Linked DNA regions of Homo sapiens: all the other regions are linked to region 3. Evidence: promoter capture Hi-C in 16 types of primary human blood cells and fetal thymus (Javierre and others, 2016). All regions are on one chromosome and are shown on one strand. Each heading gives the region's core, a stretch centred on a gene start or on the middle of the fragment in contact. The rest is flanking DNA. Distances are from core to core; before and after follow the strand shown. Region 1 has its middle 36 kb from the start of TRIL. Region 2 overlaps TRIL (TLR4 interactor with leucine rich repeats). Region 3 holds the start of CPVL-AS1 (CPVL antisense RNA 1).

Region 1 (2,934 bases), core at 317-2,816, 160 kb before region 3:
ACTAGAACCCAGTCAAGCAGGAGACAATTTTTTCTTGTCTTAGTAGCCCAGTAGCTGTTGTTCCTCCTTAACAATCGACTCATCTATGCCTTGTGGGCCTGCGACTCCTGGAGCTTACCCTGTTTCTTTGAATTGCTAGTAAACTGCAAACCAAATCTATGATTCACCCTTACCAAAAGTTTTGCAGAACTTCATTTTCATTAGTGTATGTTGTGGACTCATCTCACGTCTGGCCCCATTTCATGTCCCTACACTTTCCTTTCCTCCCTTTTCCTTATCCCGCACCCCAAAACCAATGTCTATTTTATATCATGTTATTTTAAACATTAGATATAGATTTCCAAAACCACCTTAAATGTTTTGATTCAAAGTTCTAATATACATACATGGAATCAGAGTGATTTTTAATAATTGTGGTGTACAAAACACTATGTGCCTTTTTGGATTGGCTTTGCAGGAAAAGACATTTTTTTAAATAAGATCAACAAATAAAGGAATAGCTAAATTGGAACTTGGAAGCAGAATTCCAAATTTCTTGCCTTAACTGGTGGCTCACACACTCCTCAGCAAGTAACGAAAATATTTTAGATCTGTGGTCAAGTAAGCTCCTCCATTTCATAAGTTCAAAAGCAAGAAAAATATCAGGGAATTAATACAAATTCTACTAAAACTTTTAGAGTACTCTGTTTTAGAGGGGCTCTATGATTGCTAATATTTAAAGCTATATATTGTGAAGTTCTAAAACGTAAGATGAATTACAACATTTCCCTAACCCACTTATCACATTTTCAGGGCATGTTACATTTCAGAGGGGCATATATTTGGTTCTTATAATTTGTTTACTTTGATTGTTTCATTATAAAAGAAATACAAGTTTGTGTTAATAAATGAATGATAAAGTAAAAGACAAAAGTCTTCATCCTCTTGCCCTGTCCTCACCTTAATCCCCAGAGGTTACGATTGTTAGCAACTTGGTAACTATCCTTCTAGATCTTTTCTATGTATAGATACATACAAATGCTTGAGCATTGATGTAATGTATATTATAAAAAGAAGCTTTCTATTTCAAATGGATCCAGTGGATACAACACAATTTACTTACCCATTCGGTTATTTAACATTTTCAATGTTTTCTCCCATTTGATTTCAGAGCTGAAGGGGAAAACAGAGAGTGGCATGTTAGCCCCTTATTAACGCCCATCATTTTGTATGCTCCTGTCCACATTCCATATTGAATCCTAGCACATCAGTGGATCATTCACTTACTCTCTCTTTCATCTACAGCAGGAACGTAATAAGAACAAAGATGGTCATACTCTAACAGTCACATCCCAGTGGCTTCATGTTCCCTGGACAGGACTGCATTCACCAATATGTATCCCAGTGCTTGTGATTATTATAGTACTGTGTGACATTTGCATTACATCTGTAAATTCCCAGAATGGCCACCAGAGGGAATCAACCACCCAGCGCATTCAGAGCTATTGAGTCTAGCGCCAATGACACTGGCTTAGCTCTTATCTCGAATGTGTGTCTGCTTACATTGGCTAGCATTTTTTAAAATTAGATTATATTTTTAAAATGGCCATTACTGAACTCCTCTCCAATTAATATACGGAACAATGCAGGCAAAGTGCTTCAGACAGTGCCTGGCTAAATAAACACAGTAAGTTATTATTGTTATTGTCATTCATAAGCCATTTTAAAAAGAAGAGAACCATTCCTTGCTGTGCTATTATCCCTAACAAATATTTCCTGGCAAAGGCTCATCTATTTAGTAACAGTCCAATGCATAGTTACCACGCCGCTCCCCAAAGTGCTTTGGTCTTGGTTGCTTGATTAACTTCAGGATAAATGAGTGGCCCTAGCCAAGAAGACTTTTACAATTTTTCATTCTTATTTTCTGTTAAATATATGTTGCCTTATATACCTCTCTCTCCCCCTCCGCATACAATAAAATGCATTTCATGAAATACACACATTATATAGACTCTTTCATCAGAGAATGGAGGGAGATATTCTGGAAAAATGCATTTTTTAGTTACCACCATCGCCAAGATAGACTTTTGGACAATATTAAGCTTGTTGTCACTCACAAACCTTATTCAAGCATGTCCATGCCAATGATGAATGGATACTTTCTCTAATAAGTGCTCACAAATACAGCTATGGGAGGATTCCACCAAATTTACCTCAATTTCCATTATTTCAATATGCATTTACACATATTCTGATGTTTATTGACCAATGCTCCGTAAAAATCCAAAGGCAAATGAGTGAATGATGGTAAGCCTCGAGACCACACGGTGGCGCTGTTTCATCATACTTGAGAGAGGCTTTAGCACTTTGCAGGAGACCACGGCCCCCTGAAAACAGAAGACCATGAATACAAGAATTGCCTTCCCTGTGTTACTCCAATTTGAATGAGAGAACCCAGTAGAGTTTAACATTTAGCATTAATTCGTATCTAAACAACAAAACAGCACCAAAATGCAAATGTGAGGAAATCATTGCTGAAAAGTGGGTTGTTGGAGAAATGATACATAAATGCTTCATGCTGTTAATTTATGCTACCACTTTTCATAGCAATACTGCAAGCTCTCCCTAGATGTGCGAGGTGTTTTCACTTTCATGCTTATATTTTGTTCTCCACATGATCCAGTGAAGCAAGCAAGGGGGCTTTGATCTCTATTTTACAGCTAAGGAAACTGAAACCTTTCCTGGCACCCAAAGATTGCAAAATCTTCTGCAGCACAAAAGAGTTTTTTGTGTCCTAACATCTCTCTGATGCTTGTGAGAAAGTGTAAATTCCAGTAGGCACTTTACCCAAGCCACCTTGAGGCTCTGGTTTTTTAGTTCATCCCACCCCAGGCCCAGGCAGATATGGTTGAATTCTAAGGTTTCCATTCTTTCCCATTGACCAGAGCAGGCTGG
Region 2 (2,855 bases), core at 72-2,571, 130 kb before region 3:
TTCAAAGTGTGTTTCCACACACTTCAGTACCCATATACTAAGAGCCGAGTGTGAAATCAGCTGTGGGGTAAGAATTACTTAACCAAAAAAACTGTAATTTGGTAAACTGAAGCCTGCTACATGGCCACAGCTGGTCTTAATATGCAACAGGGCTGTCCTGTCGGCATTAACTATGGCACAGAGCTAGCATTATAAAGCTTTCATTAGTTTGAAAGAAATTTTGTGGATTTACATAGTTGAAAGATGCTGTTGCTTGAAATACTGGGGCATGACAATTTATTTCCCTCTAGCATCTGATACCATTTCACAGCCAAGTTATAAAGCCACTCACAGTTCTGTGTCAATTAGAAATCTCACCACCTGTAACTTAAAAATCTTTCCAACAGTTGTAATGGAATATTTAGATACTCTGCCCTAAGATAAAGCAAGCAGGTATCAGGAAACTATACGTTCTTTCCTAATTATTTCAGTAATTAAAATAGTTAAGCATAATCTCCAAATACCTCAGTCTCCCCATGCAAAATGAAAAGAATACTATTTGCCACATGACTGAAAAGGATGAAGTGACTTGAAATCCCTAGGAAAAAAAGTATTTGTGCATGCAAAGTATTGTTTTAAGTAAACTAAATAAAGGGACACTTGAAGATACTATCTATAAGTTAATGGGAAGGCAAATTGCCAAGGCAATCCTAAGCAAAAAGAACCAAGGTGGAGGCATCACGTTACCCGACTTTGCACTATGCGAGGCTACAGTAACCAAAACAGCATGGCACTGGTACAACAAAGGGCACATAGACTAATGGAACAGAATAGAGAGCTAAGAAATAAGGCTGCACATCTACAACTATCTGATCTTTGACAAAGCTGACAAAAACAAGCAAGGGGGGAAAGACTCCCTATTCAATAAATGGTGCTGGGATAACCAGGCAGCCATATGCAGAAGATTGAAACTGGACCCCTTCCTTATGCCATACATAAAAATCTACTCAAGATGGATTGAAGACTGAGATGTAAAACCCAAAACTATAAAATGCTGGAAGATAACCTAAGCAATACCATCCCATACATAGGCGTGGGCACAGATTTCATGACAAAGACACCAAAAACAACGGCAACAAAAGCAAAAATTGACAAATGGGATCTAATTAAACTTAAGAGCTGCTGTACAGCAAAAGAAACTATCAACAGAGTCAACAGACAAGCTACCATTGAATGGGAGAAAATATTTGCAAACTGTGCATCTGACAAAGCATCTGTAAGGAACTTAAATTTATAAGAGAAAAACAAACAACCCCATTAAAAAGTGGGCAAAGGACATGCACAGACACTTTTCAAAAGAATTACACAAATGTTTCAATTAACTAGAAAAAGAGGAGGAGAAGGGTTACCATAATTCCATTACCTGAATCCTCTGATTGGTTATGGCTTAAGCAGAAATGCCTTGTGTCTGAAACTTCTTAATCAAACAATTTGTTGCCCTGTGTAAATACTACTACCACTGCTACATCTCATATTTACTGAACATCTGTGGTGTATCTGGCGTTGTTGAATGCTACTTACCCATTTATGCCTCACAATAGCACTATGCAATCAGGATTCTTAGGCTGCTCATTTTAACTGATGAGGAAGCTGAGGTAGAAATTAGGTAAAAAGAATGAATGCAACCCTCTAATGACTAAGTGCCTTCATCACTTCCTTACCATCATTCCCAACTTTCATGATGCTATACTTTCTGAGGATGGTGACAATATTGATACTAGGCCATGGTCTGGAATTGGGAATAAACTTCTAGCACTAATATGCTTCATCACCATTTACCTTCCAGTCTTATAAGAACAGGAGGGAGTGCTTAAACACAAATAACAGGCAATTCAGTTCTCTCTTTTAATGGTTTCATATATGTTGCTGTAGTTTTGGTGACAATCAGGTGTGTGACAATTTAGTGAAGGTGTTCTGATCACATGCTAATTATTTATTACCTGGTAGCCCTGCAAAATCCCCTGCATTATGGAAGCAGTAATCCCATTGGTTGACCTGAAGGTCCCACAACATTACAGACTGGCCAGTGGCTCTTTCACTGAATACTCCTAACTCATACCAAGTTTATTCTTTTTTCCTTAGGAATGTTATCTTTTCATAAGCTGTGTAGTGACAAAAATCAAAAATTACTTCCAGCTCAAGATAATTCCTTCATATTTTTGACCATGAGAGCCAAAGGGCTTGACTTTTCATCAGTTTCCTTTAAACAGGCAATGCCTGCTGAGACCCGATCACCTGCACCTTGATGTCACTGGTGTCCAACAGCACTTTCATGCTGTGGCTGACCATCTGCTTTTAGAGCCATTTCATTGTTTCTTTGCACATAACATCACACATCCTTTTCTTAAAGTCCATACTCACCTATGAAAACGGAAATAAAAAACATTAAAAAGGACAGAAAGACATCAAGCTTATGTTTCATTTCCATAAATGGGAACTGCATTGTGTCATTATGAAAGTGTATAAAATATTTGGAAACTCCAACAAATTATCTCTATTAGTGGGTTTATTGACATAACTGGACATAACAATGTATAACATTTATTCATCTCCCACTGAAAGACTTCCCAGTGAAACTAAAGTAGAACACAGATCCAGGCATTAGGCATTTTCAGTGATGTTCTATGGCTGAAAAGGTGGGTGGTGAGGAGAACCAGAGGCCTTGTCCATACTTGCAATGGGACTCAATATTACCCTGCTGGGCAAAAGAAATAGCTAGGAGATGCAATAGTGCTATGATTGAAAAAAGCCAGGAGCACAAAAGGTGCCAGATAGCTCCCTGGTTGAAAATAAGAGCAAACAACACTACTGCTCTC
Region 3 (2,835 bases), core at 111-2,610:
TGAACATAACTGAAAATAGAGATTTGTCATAGGTTCAAGAGTTAAAACAGCTTGAATGCTATCTAATAAAATTCAGCAAGTTCCAAGCCTTGAGAAATAATTGCATTCCAAAGACTTCAAGTCCTTATATCACTTGAAACTTCCACTTACTCTATAAAACTTAATGATCAAAGCCAAGTCTTTATGATTAAAACAGTCTTGGCCAGAAAGACAGAGACATTCAAGAAGCTAGAGAACTTCTTTTCTGTTTGTGTAAGGTTAATAACCTTAGAGATTCAGCATAAAATATGGAAGGGGATGTTTGACTCCCCTTCAGACACAAAGTGAATCTGAAGCAGGTCCTAGAGACAGTGCAAGTTCAAGGTGAGAGCACCCAGTTTGGTGAACAAGCATTTTGGTGAACAAGGCTGCACCACTAGCTCATTTCTTCACCACCATCTTCAGGCCCTGGAGTCTGACTGCTTAGGTTCCAATGCTGGCTCCTCCACTTTCTGGCTGGGTGACCTTGGTAAGGCATACCTAACCTCACTAAGCCTCGGTCACCTCACCTGTAAAATGGGAAGAATAATCATAGCACCTATTTCATAAGGCAGCTGTTAGGATTAAACGAGGTAATGCATAAAACAGTGCTTAGCATGATGTCTACCATACAGTCCATTCTCAATAAATATTCTCTAGTAAAATCTACAGATAAAATACATGAACTAGATGTTCTTGAAGTATCACTTCTAGCCATCAAATTACATGATCCCAAGCCCAGGCTAACAGGATGATGGTACAGGCTTACATAGAATGCTAATAATTATAAGCCTACTTCTAGAATCGCTCTCCCACCCCACCTTGGTTGCCACCCTTCTGTTTGCATGTTAGTGCTTGAAATTACCCTATTACAAATATCTACCCATCAGGTAGGCTCTGCTCTCTACTCAAATGCAAACATGTTGAGAGTCCACCCTATTGGGTTTAATTTATCAGATCCTTTCTATGGAACAATGAGTTGACAACAAGTCAGAATGGGGGACAGAAACAGAACAATCATGATACAGATGGAAGAAGCATGGAGAAATAGAAGCTGTGCACAATAGACTGAGGAGAGGATGGCTGAGGTGGGAAGATGGCCCTGGAAAACAACGGAGGCCAAAGGAGAGTCCCCAGGGCCTGGGACATAGTACAGGGAGAGAAGGGCAATGAAAGGGAGGCGAGAGGAGCAGAAAAGATCACTATTGGGTACTGAGCTTAATACCTGGGTGATGTAATAATATGTACAACAAACCCCTATGACACGTGTTTGTCTATGTAACAAACCTTCACATGTACACCCAAACCTAAAATAAAAATTTTAAAAAAAGAAAGGGGCTGGGCGCAGTGGCTTACATCTGTAATCTCAGCACTTTGGGAGACTGAGGTAGGCAGATCACCCAGTCAGGAGTTCAAGGCCAGCCTGTCCAACATAGTGAAACCCCATCTCTACTAAAAATACAAAAATTAGGCGGGCATGGTGGCACGTGCCTGTAATCCCAGCTACTCGGGAGGCTGAGGCAGGAGAATCACCTGAACCCGGGAATTGGAGGGTGCAGTGAGCTGAGATGGCAATGCTGCACTCCAGCTTAGGCATCAGAGTGACACTTTGTCTCAAAAAAAAAAAAAAAAAAAAGTAGGTGAAAAGATGCAGGAAATAAATATCAATATTTTTATTTTATCTAAAGGCAGCCATGCATGAACTCCATTCTATAATATTCATTAAGCACCGTGCTTAGTATTGAATAAGAAACAAACATGGCTCTCGCATACTGGGAGCTTGCCACCTAACCCAATGGGCCATGATGATTTCAATAAAGGTTGTCAGACACTGTACTTCCAACAGGGACTTCACCCATGCAGATGAAGATAAAGTGTCCCATTAAGCTCCCTAATTCATTTTTAAATAGCTTCAAAGTTTTGTCTCTATTGGGTTCTCAAATAAATTATGGTTGCAAAACTGTTTATAAAGAGAGTCTGCCCGTTTTTGCTGATGGAGAAGAGATGTTCTGTTTTAACCACATGCCCTGCTAGTTTGGAAGCGTTCCCATCCACTGCCACAACCTCCCACGTGCACTGACTCTTTCCCTTGAGCGGCACATAAAGCCACAGGCTCAGAGAACAATGGGCGGTCCCCCTGATCCTGTCACCTACCTGCCTTCCCGTGAGGGCTGTTTTGCTTTAACTTCTACCTGGGCTCATGTACAATTGAGAGGATGCTAAATGTGTCCGTGCCTCAAGAACAAGGGCAATCTCACTAATAGCTACTGGCTCAGAAAGGATAACACTTATAAAGAAAGTTAATTATGGGAATTAAACACAGCTTATTTCTCTTTTTGAAGTATGTTTTTTTCATGCCTTGAGGAGGGTGATTTACAGACACATTTGTCTCTTTTTAGAGAAAATTAATTCCAGTTGGTGTTCTGGGCAGAAATGAAGAGGAGGAGGAAGAAGACAAAGCAGCTTCTCCCCTTTCCTTTGCACTGAGGGCAGGCCCACGCCACTTTCTCTGGTGTGGCCACACCATCGTCCACACGGTGAGGCAGGGAGCCTGGGGTGGGTCCTGACACATTTTGCTGCTGTCCATATAAAAAACAAGCACAACTTCTAATGTCAACTGCTAAGCTCCATTTTTTTTTAGACAAAGTAACTATTGCTTTTAAAAATGATTTCAAAATAATAGACACAGAGTAGAGGGGGAAATGCCATATCCCAGCAATGAGTTAGCGGAGCTTCTATTAACACTTCAGCTCTTGTCTCCAGGCATTAGGCTGTATGCTTGGGAGTCATAATATATTAGCCCAGCTTTTCAGCATG

Evidence for each region. Contacts are between HindIII fragments. The CHiCAGO score rates a contact against its expected background, and 5 or more counts as called.
Region 1: a fragment that was not itself captured here is called in contact with the fragment with the promoter of CPVL-AS1 in region 3 in 4 of 17 cell types (megakaryocytes, erythroblasts, total CD8 T cells and 1 more); the score reaches 6.7 in megakaryocytes.
Region 2: a contact is called between a fragment that was not itself captured here and the fragment with the promoter of CPVL-AS1 in region 3, in 2 of 17 cell types (endothelial precursors and M1 macrophages). The highest score is 6.2, in endothelial precursors.

The regions. Positions count from the first base shown.
Region 1 is chr7:28,920,509-28,923,442 of GRCh38, forward strand. No RefSeq gene overlaps it. Among named protein-coding and RNA genes, the nearest start is that of TRIL, 36 kb to the right of the region's middle. The HindIII fragment of the contact is 1,025 bases long and covers 1,055-2,079 here.
Region 2 is chr7:28,950,831-28,953,685 of GRCh38, forward strand. It overlaps TRIL (TLR4 interactor with leucine rich repeats), which reads right to left. Exons shown (of 1, transcript NM_014817.4): 1 at 2,528-2,855. Among named protein-coding and RNA genes, the nearest start is that of TRIL, 6.1 kb to the right of the region's middle. The HindIII fragment of the contact is 2,252 bases long and covers 196-2,447 here.
Region 3 is chr7:29,078,924-29,081,758 of GRCh38, forward strand. It overlaps CPVL-AS1 (CPVL antisense RNA 1), which reads left to right and starts at 1,361. Exons shown (of 3, transcript XR_001744918.2): 1 at 1,361-1,405; 2 at 2,418-2,555. The region is part of intron 7 of CPVL (carboxypeptidase vitellogenic like); the gene reads right to left. The HindIII fragment of the contact is 9,422 bases long and covers 1-2,835 here.